2 separate regions of the Homo sapiens genome follow, and region 2 is linked to region 1. Evidence: promoter capture Hi-C in human tissues and cell types (Jung and others, 2019). All regions are on one chromosome and are shown on one strand. Each heading gives the region's core, a stretch centred on a gene start or on the middle of the fragment in contact. The rest is flanking DNA. Distances are from core to core; before and after follow the strand shown. Region 1 holds the start of KIAA0040. Region 2 overlaps COP1-DT (COP1 divergent transcript).

Region 1 (7,207 bases), core at 2,499-4,998:
CCCCTCCCTGAACTGTAGTTTGCTCATCTGTGAAGTGAAGGGGTGGGGCTGGCTCTTCTCGGAAGTGTTTTTCCATTTGAAGTCTCTGAATCTGTGGTTACTTCCTCTTTTTCATCAACAGCTTAGCCTCTATTAGAACTCTGTTTACTTGAAGGTTTTTGACGTTGGCATAACATTCCAACTTCATGGGGTTGGAATAAGTCAGGATTCCCTGGTTGGGACAGGGAAAAATCACAAATATACCCAAGTCATTGACTAATGCTCAGATTCAGGGCCATTGGATTAAATGGGTTAAACCAGCACCTTGGTGAGAATTAGAAAAAAGCATCCCCTCCATGTGGACTCAGCTGCAAGTGGGGTGGGTCTAAGGCCTAGCAGGTGGAATATTGGTGCTTTCAGCTCCAAAGACTCCCAGGAGTCCTTGTGCAGTACACAACCTGCACAAGCAATAGCAGAGCATTGACTTCTTTGGGCTCTGACCATTTTAGCTAAGGAGGACAAAAGAGGCCAGAGTAGATGCATGTGATTGATATCATGGAAGGAGACTTATCATTACTGCCTTAAAATATGTCATACAATAGGAAAGCTGCAAGTCTGGGCTGAAGATGCTGCCCAGAGCTTACACCTACACAGTCCGTCTAATTTTGGTAGTTTCAAGAGGCAAGATTAGAAATAACAATAAAACCCCTTACATTTTTATAGAGTCTTACAATTTATGTAGCACATTAAATGTACTTTCCTTTTCAATTTGATTCTGATTCTAACCATTGCCCTGGTGAGTAATAATTATCCCCATTTTAAATATAAGGGAAATGAAGCTTTCAAGAACTTGTTCAAGGTCAGCTAATAAGCAGTTAAGCCAGGAACTGAACCCATGTATCTCTAGCTCCAAGCTCAAGGTTTTTTCTTCCATGCAGGTCACACAAGATCCTGAGCCGAGCACTGGCAGCCAGACCTAAATAACTACTCTGTAGGGGTCTGAAATTAGTCAGAGTAGGTCATCCTTCTTGTTTTTATGAAGTCAGGACTCTCCCACACAGGGGTAGGTAACTAAAGACTTGGAGTGTGAGTTCTGGAAAGGTCTTCACAGATCTTACAACTGAACTAAGTATTAATTTTTCACATGGAGGAGTGATAATTAAATGCATCTTTACTATCTATGTGCCATGAACCCAGAATTCTCTTCTTTATTTTAGGAATTATCCTCCAAGGTATCCTGAGAAAGCCTTGAGCGTTCGGAGAAAGTCATCTGGAAGTCAACATATGATATGAAAATATCTATAGGCCACTATTGACAAATACAAGACTCTTCAGCACCAATGTGGTGCTACCACAGGCCTCTTTAGCTGCCTTCCACCTCCACCTATGTTCCAGACCTGTATACCCAACTGCTTATCTCCATCTGGACATTTCCTGGGCATATTCAACTTTAATATGCCTAAAGTGTTCATCACTGCCTTCTCCACAATCTGCTTCCCAAGCCCACTCCTTCTCTAGCTTACATGATTTTTATTAATGGCTCTACAAGGTACCTTCCCCTGCCTATCCCACTCAACACCTTATAATCACTCTCTATTCACTCATTCCTCCTTTACCACATTCACTTGGTCACCAAGTACTTCTGATTCTACTTCCTAAAATCCATTCCTTTTCCTCAGTTCCCACTGCCATTGTCTTAGCTGAGGTCTTAATTATCTCTGCTTCCCATCTCTCTAAGCCAGCCCCCATCTGGCCAATAATTCTTTTTCCAAACACAAATCTGACCGGATCCTTCCTCTGCTTAAAAACTCAAAAATGGCTTCCTATAGGAGGGAGTTCACCCTTCTCAGTCTAGCAGTGTAATTCCTATTACACGCTATTCCCTACCTGCCATTGACTTTGCATACCCTCTTTCCTTTGTTCAAAACACACTTTCCCTAGGAACTCCTAGTCATTTCCAAGACCCTGCTCATCCATCACTTCTGTGGTGTGGACTTCACAGATAATTCTGGGGAAGGATCTCCTGCCCTCTCCCCTGGATTAGTCAGTGCCCTGTAGCTACTGCTATTACAATGTATATTATCCTGAACTGCAGTTTATTTCTGTATCTGTCTCACTTACCAGACTGAAGCTCCTCAAAAACAGAAACCATCTCATTATCTTTGGACTCCAAGGCCCTGGTATACTGGCCTGCACACGGTAGGTTTGGCAAATGTTGAATGAATGTATGGAATGGATGCATCTCCCTCTTTGGTGAAATCAATAACTTAGTTTGTTGAGTGTTTATTATTCTCTTGGGTTTAGTCTTTAGGGAAGAGGACAGAAGTCATACTCATTTCACAGGCCAAATATTGACAATGCATGGAGGCCAAAGAAACTTTTGTTTTACAACGCATCTCTTTCCTAAAATTGTATCTGGGATGGGGACAGAGAGGCAGAATTTCAGACAAAAGGAAAGACTTGGTCAGATTTTCCTGTACAGCTGCCTCTCCAGCCCAGCACTGGGTGAAGGGCAGGCACATCAGACTAAGTGGTTGATGCAACTGAACCAGTTTAAAGGCTGGTAAGACGCTTGCAGAAGTCTTTAGATAGAACTTGCAAACCATTTGCAAAAGGGTTAGGAACAGGTTGCATCAATGCTATGTTTAAGTCCTGCTCTTTGTAACTCAAGGCTCTCCCATTATCTAACAGAACTTCAGAATGAGGGTTCCTTAAAATTAGCTTCAGGTCCTTATGAGCTGTAGCTGAGCAAATGAAATGCAACTGCTTTAGAAGGGAGGAGCTTCCAAGATGCTCCAGTGGTCTTTTCCTTCCCTTCCTCGTATAACGCAATCGGTGGCACAATCCCGCTAAGTAGCATGGCATGCTGGCTGCCGGTGTTCTGTTAAATTAGGGTGAGTGCTTGTCTGTGCTTCAGTTTCCCTTTCGGTTAGGCAGGACTGGTCTTCCCACTAGCTATCATCTATAGTTTACTTAACTCTATTATCATATGATGAATCCCGTAAAGCTCTTCAGAATGTTAGGGAAACAGGTCCTATTATGTCCCCCACTCTACCTTCATGGGTGGGATGGGGGGTCTGGGGGTGGGACCACTGAGAGTCAAAGAAGTTAGGAAGTAATCTGTGTCACAGCAAGCTCCCTGGAAACTCTCAGAATAGCAAACAGGTTTCCTCTCCGCCCCTGGCTCCACGCCATATTTTCGTTTTGGCTAGTTCCTTAGCTCCAGAGAAAATCTGGCTTCACCTAGAATGGTTTAGAAACACCTAAGCCCGCGATGCTTTCCGGAGGGTCTCAGGCCTTAGCTTTCTCAGTAAAAAACAGAATTTCCATGTGTCCCCTTCAAAGCGCTCCTACCGGCAGCTGGAGTAAGGTAACTCCACCGCCGACCTCCGAGGAGTTCATGTGGACTCAGCCCAGGCGCAGAGAGGAAGACTCCTGAGAGTCCTCGCGAAGGAGGGAAACACACCAGAACTAAAGTTGTGAAGGCGCAAGAGGCTACTTAGGAATAATTCCTTGTATCTCTGGGGCAGGTCTCATCCTTCTAAAGACAGGAGTGACTGGGCGTCTTCTTCCAAACAGAGGGCGCTTAAAAATGTATTTTTAAAAAACATAACAGAAAGTCCTGAAACTCACCTTTCGGTCCGCGGAAGGGCTTCCTGCAGGCCCAGGGAATCTCCTGGTTGCTGCCCCGTCTGACAGCGCCCCGGGCCCTGGAGGGAGGTGTGGGTTCCTTTTTGGTTGCCTCTGCACTCCCACCCCGAGCCAGGTCTGGCGTGTAGGGCCCCGGCGCCGGCCAAGGTCGTGGGAGCCGCCCGCCCCGCCCCGCCCCGCCCCGCTCCACCCCCGCGCGTACCTGCCGCTGCCGCCGAGGGCAGCGCCCTCTGTGTTCCCTGCCTTCCTACGGGCCGACGCCTGGCATAGTTGAGGTTTCGCTCCAACTCTGTCCTGCCCCTGATGTCACAGGCACAACTTCCTGAATCTGGCTCGCCGTTCCGCCCGCTCCAGGGGCTCGGCCCAGGCTTTCCACCCTGGGCCAGCCCACCTCGGGTGCCTCTGGCCTTGGGCGCACACGCCCCAGACGCGCCCTCCCTCCCCGTCTTCCCGCCGGTGGCTCCCCACTCCCCGCCCCCCGCCATTACGTGTCCTTGCCCCCTCAGTCCCGGAACACGCCTCCTTCAGGACACAGCGGCTGCGGAGCCAGCCCCGGTGTCTCTCACAGACGCACCAGTGTTCCAGGAATGGGACACAGAACTCCGGGCAAACCCGGCTTCAGGGAAAACAGCTGCCTAAATAGAGGGCCTTCCTGGAAGGGGTGGGAGGCGTTGGAGAGGGATACCATGCGGCAGGTTGGGTGAAGGCTCCGATGTCTTATCGGGACAAATGAGCATGACAGTCCCCTCTAGCCAACGCCGGTTGCTCCAAGGGGTGCAGGTGACATCTCAGAAGAGTCTTTGTCTCTGCTGCCTGGAGGCGCTAAGGAAAACTGCGCCCCAGGAGCTGTCTGTCACAAGCAAATGACGGAGGGGAAAGCTGACTTCAAAAAGTTCTCAGGGGTTCTTCCCTCTCATCCTCAGCTGCTCTCCATCTACTTTCTATTCAGATCTCTTGGCTCTAGTTCCGAGCACATGGGATGCTAGGAAATGAAAAGACCTGCGCCCCTTTGAATAGGGGACTCCAGACACAAAGCTCTGATGATTCAGAGCTTGTTCAGTGCCTCCAGGGATACTGTGGGTGGGAAAAGAGGGGGATGCCAGGACCTGGCTGTGGATCATTTCAGGGGCCTCCTCAGTGTCATCCTGGGAGGTCCTCCCTGACAAGGGCCTGAAATGCTGTTCCCTCGACTGTATTTGCCAGGTACACAGGTACCAGGTGCCAGGTGCTGAACCAGGACTTGCCCTCCATCGACTGTGCCTGAGTATGGGTGTCCTTTGGCTTCTCCAAGTGGGCATTAAAATGACTGCTGCAACCAACTGTCACAACTGAGATTCAAGAGATTCCTTTCTGTTTATTCAGGAGAAACCACGTGGCTCTGAGTTGAAAGGCCAAAGAGAAAACCCACCATCCAGCCTGAAACGCCAAAAATGGCTAGAAAAAGAGGAAAATAAGTTATTTATTTATTTATTTATTTATTTTTTACAGAGGAAGACTAGATTCACAAGCCGGGAGAAGCTCAAATCTGTAATGACACTTTGAGCCTGCAGTTGTCTACCTATGTACAATGTACCTATGTACCTATGTAGGTTCCTCTAAAACTCCTGGAGCCTAAGGCCAGAGTATAGAGTCTAACAGGGCCATGAGGAAGACAGGCCTGGGATGGATGATAGTAAGGCCTTGAATGCTGGCCTGAAAATTTGGGAATGGGGATCTCCTGCCTGGAGGTTTACACACAGTGTATCATTCAACCTTTCACAACACATTTATGAGAGGTAGTATTATCCTCATTGTACAGGTGAGGAAATTGTGGTTGAGAGGAAGCTAAGGAAGTTCCTCAAGGTCACATAGCTAATAAATGGTAGAGCCAGGTTTGAATCCAAGTGTTTCCAACCGCCGCTCCCCCTGACCCAGTGCATCCTTTTACCACCATATCATCTAGTAGAGGAGGAACTTGCCTTCTGTGAAGGAATTCCACACTTGAGCAGGGATCATGTACAGGTCTTGAATGACGCCTATTGCGGGGAGGCCATAGAAAATACTTTCCTGAAAGTCTGGAGCAACATTACAGATTGGTTCTGGCCAGGGTGATGGGTATGTAGGGTTGCTTTTAAGAGAAAAGAGGAAGAAACTAAATGAGAAAAACAGGGGCAATCGAATTGAGCTCAGGGCTTCATGGACATGGTTGTCTGATCGTAGAAAGGAAACCAGGGCCATCCATAAGATGGTATCTCTAGCTATCTCAATTCATAAGGAGAAAAGTCTAATGCTGAAAACCAGAAAATTCTGTGGCAGAGAAATCAGGGACTTATAGGTGGGCTGGATGGTGGATTTACTCACACTAGACTGCCAAGGCTGCAAAGTCTGTTGCTGTATTGACACTACTAGAAGATGCAATTATGCAGAAGAAAAGAAGTGGGCATCTGGCAAGGATGTTTTCACCCTGGATGAATGATGTGTTCCTTATGAAAAAGCAGGTTGGAACACCCACCTACTATTTTATTCCTTGGCAGTAAAATCCTAACTCCTATGAACTCATGAACAGCCCCAGGCAGCAACAGGGCTACTACGTTTTGCTTAATCCTTATTATTTTTCTTGTTTTCAGTAAGGATATTTGAAGTTGGTCAAGAGCTTAGTGGGCACTAAATGGAGTAGAACAAAATATTAACTTTTTTTTTTTTTAAAAAAAGAAGCCAAAATAAAGCAGATTTGTGCACTGAGACTGGAAATTGGAACCCCTTTTTGACCACTCCTCACTAGCTTTAGCACCTGCTGATCTCTGGTTTCACATCAGTATGTTGCAGAAAACAGGGGTTGCCTCCCTCTCAGATACTGTAAAAATCAGTGGAGTGCTAAGTATTGAACTTAGTCTGCTTTGAAGCTAAGACTGACTACACTTGGATTTCTTTCTTGGCAATGCCCTATTTCAGACAGGTTAACTTGCAGTATTGGCCAGTACTGATCCACCCGTGCTGCCTGGAGACAGTTTCCCATGAGTTTGCAAACCCAGAGTCTAGAAGCTGTGTCTTTTATAATGTGGTTGCATCCAGGACAGTGCTGCACAAAATTGGACACATTTTTCAGGTGTGGGAAATTTTAAATTGAGAACATCATTTTACTCTTACCAATAACTGTGGTGTATTCTTGCCTGCAACACTGTGAGAGGGTCTAGAAGGTTAAAACGGGGATAGGGAAAGTCCCCAAATAGCAACATGGATGTTCTGAGGAACTGAGTAGAAGTCACAGGGCTGCTGACAAGGAGAAGGCTGTTAGGAGGAAATGATCAGACTATAAATGGTGTGGATATGATGAGCACAGACTTGTTCATCAGATCCTGAAATATAGCAGTGCTTTGGAACCACGAGTGGGGCAAGTTCAGGACAAGTCAGCGGAAATACTACTTCATGCAGCAGGTAATAAATTTATGGAATGAATTATCTCCCAGAGGTGGTACAAACTGGCAACATAAATGGATTCCAGAAGAGTGAATGGCAGAGGCATAAAGAGAGCTGCAGGAAGCAGAGATATACTCCATGTGGTGGGGAGTTCAGGGTGGCCCAATGAGGCCTTACACAG
Region 2 (7,207 bases), core at 3,163-5,662, 1.1 Mb after region 1:
GACTACTGTATTCCTAATTTTTTTCTCTCATTTCTTATGACATCACTGCCATTTATTTTACTTTTCTATTATGTGTAGTAATTACCCAATACATTGTTACTATCACTTTTAACAAAGTTATCTCTTAGAGTAATTAACAAACAAGTAAAACAAAATATTTTATCTCACCTTCATTTATTTCTTCTCTGATGCTATTCTTTTGTTTATGTGATCTAAGTTTCTGACCTATACCATTTTTCTTCTTCCTAAATAATTTTTAAAAACATTTCTTGCAGGGCAGGTTGGGTGGTGATAAATTACCTCAGTTTTTGTTTGTCTAAGAAAACTTTTATTTCTCTTTCCTTTTTACTGATAATTTTACTGGATATAGAGTTCGAGATTGTTGGTTTTTTTTCTTTCAACACTTTAAATATTTCCTTCCACTTTCTTCTTGCTTGCATGATTTTTGATGAGCAGTCTACTTTAATTTTTATGTTTCTTTCTCTATAAATAAGGTTTTATTTTTAAATCTGTTTTCTTTCAAGATGTTTCCTTTTGTCTTTGTTTTTCTTCAGCTTAAATATGGTATACCTAGGTGTAGTTTTAAAAGTATCCTGCTTGGTGTTCTCTGAGCTTTCTGACTGTGCTTTAGTGTTTGTCACTATATTTGAAAAATTCTTGGCCATTACTACTTCAAATATTTCTTTTGATTCACTTTATCTTTCTTTTCCCTTTGGTATTCCAATTACACATATTTTACACTTCTTGAAATTGTCTCACAGTTTGGATGTTCTGGGTTTCTTTTCATTCTTTATCTCTTTGCATTTTTGTTTGGGACGTTTTCATTGACCTATTTTCAAGTTCACTGATTATTTCCTCAGCTATGTCCAGATTAATCAGCCCATCAAAAGCATTCTTCATTTCTGTTACAGTGTCTTTGATTTCTAGCGTTTCCTTTTGATTCTTACAGTTTCTATCACTTTGCTTACATTACCCATATGTTCCTTCAGGTTGTCTAGTTTTTCCATCAGACATATAATTATGTATGTCTTTAGCATATATAATTATTTTAAATTGCCTGTCTGAGAATTTCAAAATTTGTATTATATCTGAGTGTGGTTCCATTGCTTGCTTTGTCTTGTTTGGTCCAGAAAATCATACCCAAAAGTATGGTGCTCAGTATGCTGAGCATTTTTGAATTAAAGAAAATTAGACAGTCTTAGAGGCTACCTCAGAACCAAAAACTTTATAACCTTCTTTTGTTTCCTATACCCACCACTCAGTGCAGGGAGGAGCTCAATCTGGAATTTCTTTATCTGACTGAGGAAACTTCTTTCCAAAAGAAGTGTAATTGTTTTAAGACTCTCTCCCTAGACATCTCATTAAATAATAGCAAAAGATTAACTAAGAAGAAGAGAAGAGAACACATCCAGAAAGATTTTTCATCTATTTTTCTGAGGGGAGCGCTGAGAAATTACCTGTGAGACTGTATCTGCACAATCAGACAACCTTTGTTCATAGTGCAGTTCTGCCCCTCATTTTTGTGTATCTAGTCCACAAGATATTGCTTGTCCTTAGTTTCCATTTATTGTGCAAAGAGAATCATTTACAAACAACTGACTGTTCTTTGGGCTCATTCATTTCCTCTAAAAATTATTTACAATTCCTGTAAAACTGCCTACAACCCCTAACTTCTCTCCCCCGCATAAAGATGTTATTTAAGCTTCAATCATCTGGTTCTACTTTGAGTCTCATATTTTGTATGGCTCCCACACTTATGCATGTTAATAAATTTGTACTTTTTTCATGTTATTGTTTATTGTTAGTTTATTTCAGTAAAACTTCAGACAGAATGGAAGAGAAGCTTTCCTTTAGCTCCTACGGTCTCCTCAGATTGTTTTTTCTTCTTTCTTGTTTGGTATGCCCTGTAATTTTTTGCTGAAATTAAATGTTATGTTTCAGGCGATAGGAAATGAGGTAGAAGGTCTTTAGTATGAGCGTTTCTGTTAATCTGGCTAGCAGTTGGGGTGTACTTAATATTTGTTGTAGTTATAGATTCTAGAAGCTTCAAATTCTATGTCCCTGTTTTAATCTTCCCTGTTTTCTCTGGACTTTCCTGTAGTCTCCTCAGAAAAAGTCTTGGCCTTGGATCTCTTTCAATTGTGATTCACTGTGATCACACTGGAGCCCTGTGAGTGTGGTATAACGCATGGGGAAGAAGAATTTCTACACTTGATCTTAGCCAAAAGGCTGAGAAGTGATGGGAAGAAGAATTTCTATAATCTTATAATTAAATTTCAGTCTTTTGTATAATGATGTCCCTGGACCATGACTTTCACAAATGTCTCTTAGCTTTTTTCCACCCTTACATGAGCTAGCAAGAGTGAATGGGACTGGAGTTGTCATGGATAGGATAAGTCTCTGGAAGTCTTTTTCCCTGGAGACTAGGCCTTTTTCTGGAGAATGTTCTGGATTATATGATTAGTCTCCCCTCTTCCCTCCATCCTGCTAGAGCCACAGGGGATCTTTCCTGTGCGTTTACTATGAGAATGTGGTAAGATTTCTAGAGCCAAAACTTATAAAAATATGAGGATCCCTCCAACATTGTGGCCCTCAGGAGCCTCTCATTCTTGTGCCAGTCCACACTCAGACTCTGGCATTTCACCCAAATAAGCATTTAAATGTTTCTACTATGTTATGGCTCCAGCAGCTTCTGCTTATTTAGATGTGCAGATTTCAGCTGTGTCTCTCTCCACATTTTTGGGTTGTGATTTGTCCTGTGTAGGGATGAAAAAGGAAGGCTTTCCCTCTACTCTCTGAAGGTTCACTGAAATGAACTAATAATGGACAGATTAGCAAGAGAAAAGGCATACAAATTTAGTAATGTGCAGAAGCACAGGAGCCATATGTCAATAAGAAATAATTGAAAGGATGAGAATCTAGTTTAAAAGATTTTCTTCAAACATAATGCTGTGAATGGACATCTCAGTAACACAGAAGCCAAATAAATGGGATCAGCACTAAGAAGCTGAAAAGTTAAAGCATTGCTTCTATAGGCAGAGAGCAAAAAATTGAACAGAATGACAGCATTTTCCATACAAGGCTAGTTTATGAGTTACAGTAATTTAATTTGCTTTAGCTTGTTTTATTTTCCTTTCCAACGTAGAAGGGTATCTTTAACATTTTATTTTAGGCAATGTGATAGTCATAAGGACTTTGTGTAAGAGATGTATATCTATAATCAGAAGAACAAAGGTTATAGCTGCCTAGGTTACAGCTGCTTAGATTACAATCGCCTGTCATATGACTCAGGTCTCATAATCACATTCCTTTAAGACTCAAAATCATGTAAAGTTCCAATAGCTTTGATTTTCTTTCTTTGTTTCATTTATTTTTAATATTTATTTTTTGTGGGTACATGGTAGGTGTATATATTTCTGTGGTACATGAGTTTTGAAACAGGCATGCAATGTGAAATAATCAGATCATAAAGAATGGAGTACCCATTCCATCAAGCATTTATGATTTGTGTTACAAACAATCCAATTATACTCTGTTATTTTTAAATGTACAATTAAGTTATTATGACTATAGTCACCCTGTGGTGTTATCAAATAGTAGGTCTTATTCATTCTTTCTATTTTGTGTATCCATTAACCATCTCTACTTCTTTCCCAAACCTTCCCACCCTTCCCAGACTCTGGCAACCATCCTTCTACTCTCTATGACCCTGAGTTCAATTGTTTTCATTTTTAGATTCCACAAATAAGTGAGAACATGCAATGATTGTCTTTCTGTGCCTGGCTTATTTCACTTAACATAATGATCTCCAGTTCTATCCATGTTGTTGCAAATGACAGGATCTCATTCTTGTTTTTATGGCTGAATAGTACTCCATCTGTATATGTACCACATTTTCTTTATTCGTTTGTTGATGAACACTTAGGTTGCTTCCAAATCTTAGCTATTGTAAACAGTGCTGCAACAAACATAGGAGTGCAGATATCTCTTTGAAATACAGATTTTCTTTCTTTTGGATATATACCCAGCACTGGGTTTGCTGGGTCATATAGTAGCTCTATTTTAGTTTTTTGAGGAACCTCCAAACTGTTCTTGATAGTGGTTGCACTAGTTTATGTTCCCCCCAACAGTGTACAAGGAGGGTTCCCTTTTCTCCACATCTTTGCCAGCATTCGTTATTGCCTGTCTTTTGGATAAAAGCCATTTTAACTAAGGTGAGAGGATATCTCATTGTAGTTTTGATTTGCAGTTCTCTGATGATCAATGATGTTGAACACCTTTTAATATGCCTGTTTGCCATTTGTATTTCTTCTTTTGAGAAGTGTTTATTCAGATCTTTGACCCATTTTTAAAGCTGGGTTATTAGATTTTTTTTCCCTGTAGAGTGGTTTGAGCTCCTTATATATTCTGGTTATTAATCCCTTGTCATGTAAGTAGTTCAGCTTTGATTTTGAATTACTTCTTTTTACACAAAGAAGGGCCAGATGGCTGAAGCTGATATACCCTCTTCATAGGGGAAAGAAAATTGGGGAAGAGGAAGATGGCTTTGAAAGACAATTTTTGAAGGGTGATAAATAATTTTAGGGAGGATGACTGGACCCAGGAGATGGAAATTAGCTTGCAATTGTTTCTTTGGAATTTGAATGAGAGACAGAAAATATTTTGTCATAACGTCTGTCCAGGTGTGGTTACATTCCTCAGTCTACTATATGGTAGATAATGAAATTTCAGGTAGGGGGTGGAGGGTAACTGTGTTTTTCTGGAGGAGCTTCAGATAAATGAACCTAAGGAAGACAATTTCACTCTGTGCTTAGGAGGAGGAACAGGAGAAGGCTAGAAAGTCCTTGGTTCTGAGGCTCTAGTCTAAGGTCTTTTAATTTTCTTTAGTTCATAAGTGCTCAGCACACCAAAGCACCATACTTTGGAATATCATTTTCTGAGCCCCACATCAATTCAAGAAAAATAATTGATTTTCAGTTTCTCTAGCTTTTCCTTGTTTTAACTCCAGAAGTGACAACTTTCAAGCTCTTTACATGTCCTATCTAGAACTAGAAGTCTGGGGAGAAGTATTTTATCACTGATCTTGTTTAGGATGGTTGACCCATGCTGCTAATAAAGAGTAGCCTAATTTTAAGTAGGTTTTTTTTTTTTGAGACAGGGTCTTACTCTGTCACACAGTTTGGAGTGTAGTGGTGCAATCTCGGTTCACTGCAACCTCCACCTCCCAGGCTTGAGTGGTCCTCCCACCTCAGCCTCCGGAGTAGCTGAAACCACAGGTGCGCTCCACCACACCCAGCTAATTTTTGTATTTTTAGTAGAGACAGGGTTTCACCATGTTGGTCAGTCTGGTCTTGAACTCCTGACCCCAGGCTATCCACCCACCTTGGCCTCCTAAAGTGCTGGTATTATAGGTGTTAGCCACTGTGCCATGCCTTTAGTAGGTTTTTAAATGTTAAATTCTCTACATATTATGTGCTCCTCATTGCTTCATCTCAGAAGAGCTCTCCTGTTTTTCCCTCAAGCCCTTTGTCCAAATGAAACCATTTGTCTGCTTTTCTATCATTCTTCTTCTCATTCTTTACCCACTGACTCCTACTCATCCTCTAGGTCTGGACTTAAATCTCACTTCTTTGAAGAATATCTCTCTCATTGTTTAAACTTGGTTAAATCAAAACTAGGTTAAATTATTGCATATTCCTTTGACTCTGTATGCTACCTTGGAAATATTTAAGTCTCTTGAAATTGCTTTTTAAATATAATCCTTGTGAGGGCAGGGACCATTTGTGTATTTTTAGTATCTAGCACAATTACTCACACAATGTGGGCACTGAAGAATAATGTATTGATTGATACTTGACTGAAAGGTGTGACCCAATAATTCTACATCTGGCTGAGTTTTCTTAAAAGTGTAATGGTAACAGAGAGAAATCCTTTGAGCTGTACTATTTGAAAAAATTTATTTGAATTTGTAATCCAGCTAATCAAAGGATATAACCAAATATGAAGTCATGCATAACTGGAGAAGATGTAGTATAAACAATGAATTGTCAACATTAAGTCCAGTAAAGCAAAAACATATTTAGGCCCCAAACAGACTGCAATTATTATGATTATTGAAACAAAAGCTACACGATGCAAAAATAATTTGACAATAATAAAATGAAATCTTAGAACATGACCAAAAATTGAGAGTATTAAACCTATACTGTTTTTTATCTGGAACTGATTGAGAAATATATGTTTCAGAATTAATTTAAAAATGTCAAGGTTACCAATAGTACAAAAACCAGAAAACAAATTATAACTTCCAAATTACTTAGGTAGAGGATGATGTGGGTAGCAAACAAAATAAATGAAACTACATAATAAAAGTTAGAAATCAAATAAAATACCAAGGAAGCATGAAAGAATACTAGTTAAGATGTATTCTCTCTCTATAACCACACATATACACATGCATAATTTAAAAGGAGTGAAATCTTCTACTTTTCCTCTAGTAGATGATTTCACTTAAATCAAGTAAAAAGTAGACTTTTTTAGTAGTATAAAAAAGTAGCATAAAAAACAACTTTATGCTGTTTATAGGAGACAGAGTTTTTAAAAGTGATCCTGTGAAATTAAAAGTATCAGTGTTGGCCGGGCGCAGTGGCTCAAGCCTGAAATCCCAGCATTTTGGGAGGCTGAGGCAGGCAAATCACGAGGTCAGGAGATGCCCCATCCTGGCTAACACGGTGAAACCCCATCTCTACTAAAAATACAAAAAATTAGCAGGGCGTGGTGGCGGGTGCTTGTAGTCCCAGCTACTTGGGAGGCTGAGGCAGGAGAATGGCGTGAACCCGGGAGGCGGAGCTTGCAGTGAGCCGAGATAGCACCACTGCACTATAGCATCACTGCACTCCAGCCTGGGCGACAGAGTGAGACTCCGTCTCAAAAAAAAAAAAAAAAAAAAAGTATCAGTGTAAAAAAATGCAATGAAAAAAAAAAAACTTGATGATACCAAAAAAGTCACAGTGGCTTATGCCTAAAATCGGAGGATCACTTGAGCCCAAGGTTTCAAGGCTGCAGAGAGCTAGGCTATGATCGTGCCACTGCATTGTAGCCTGGGCAACCAGAGCAAGACCCCATCTTTTAACAAAAAAGTTGAATTCAGGGCAAAAAAACACTTGTAATGATTAAGAATATAATCAAAATGAAGATGTAACTAAAA

What was found. Contacts are between HindIII fragments. The study calls those that stand out against the background at their distance.
Region 2: a contact is called between a fragment that was not itself captured here and the fragment with the promoter of KIAA0040 in region 1, in 1 of the 25 tissues and cell types used here (heart right ventricle).

The regions. Positions count from the first base shown.
Region 1 is chr1:175,189,028-175,196,234 of GRCh38, forward strand. It overlaps KIAA0040, which reads right to left and starts at 3,749. Exons shown (of 4, transcript NM_014656.3): 1 at 3,613-3,749. RefSeq lists enhancers at 2,952-3,001, 3,142-3,191, 3,432-3,581, 4,302-4,411. The HindIII fragment of the contact is 10,092 bases long and covers 1-7,207 here.
Region 2 is chr1:176,241,789-176,248,995 of GRCh38, forward strand. All of the region lies in intron 4 of COP1-DT (COP1 divergent transcript), which reads left to right. It also overlaps the pseudogene RNU2-12P. Among named protein-coding and RNA genes, the nearest start is that of COP1-DT, 38 kb to the left of the region's middle. The HindIII fragment of the contact is 5,280 bases long and covers 1,773-7,052 here.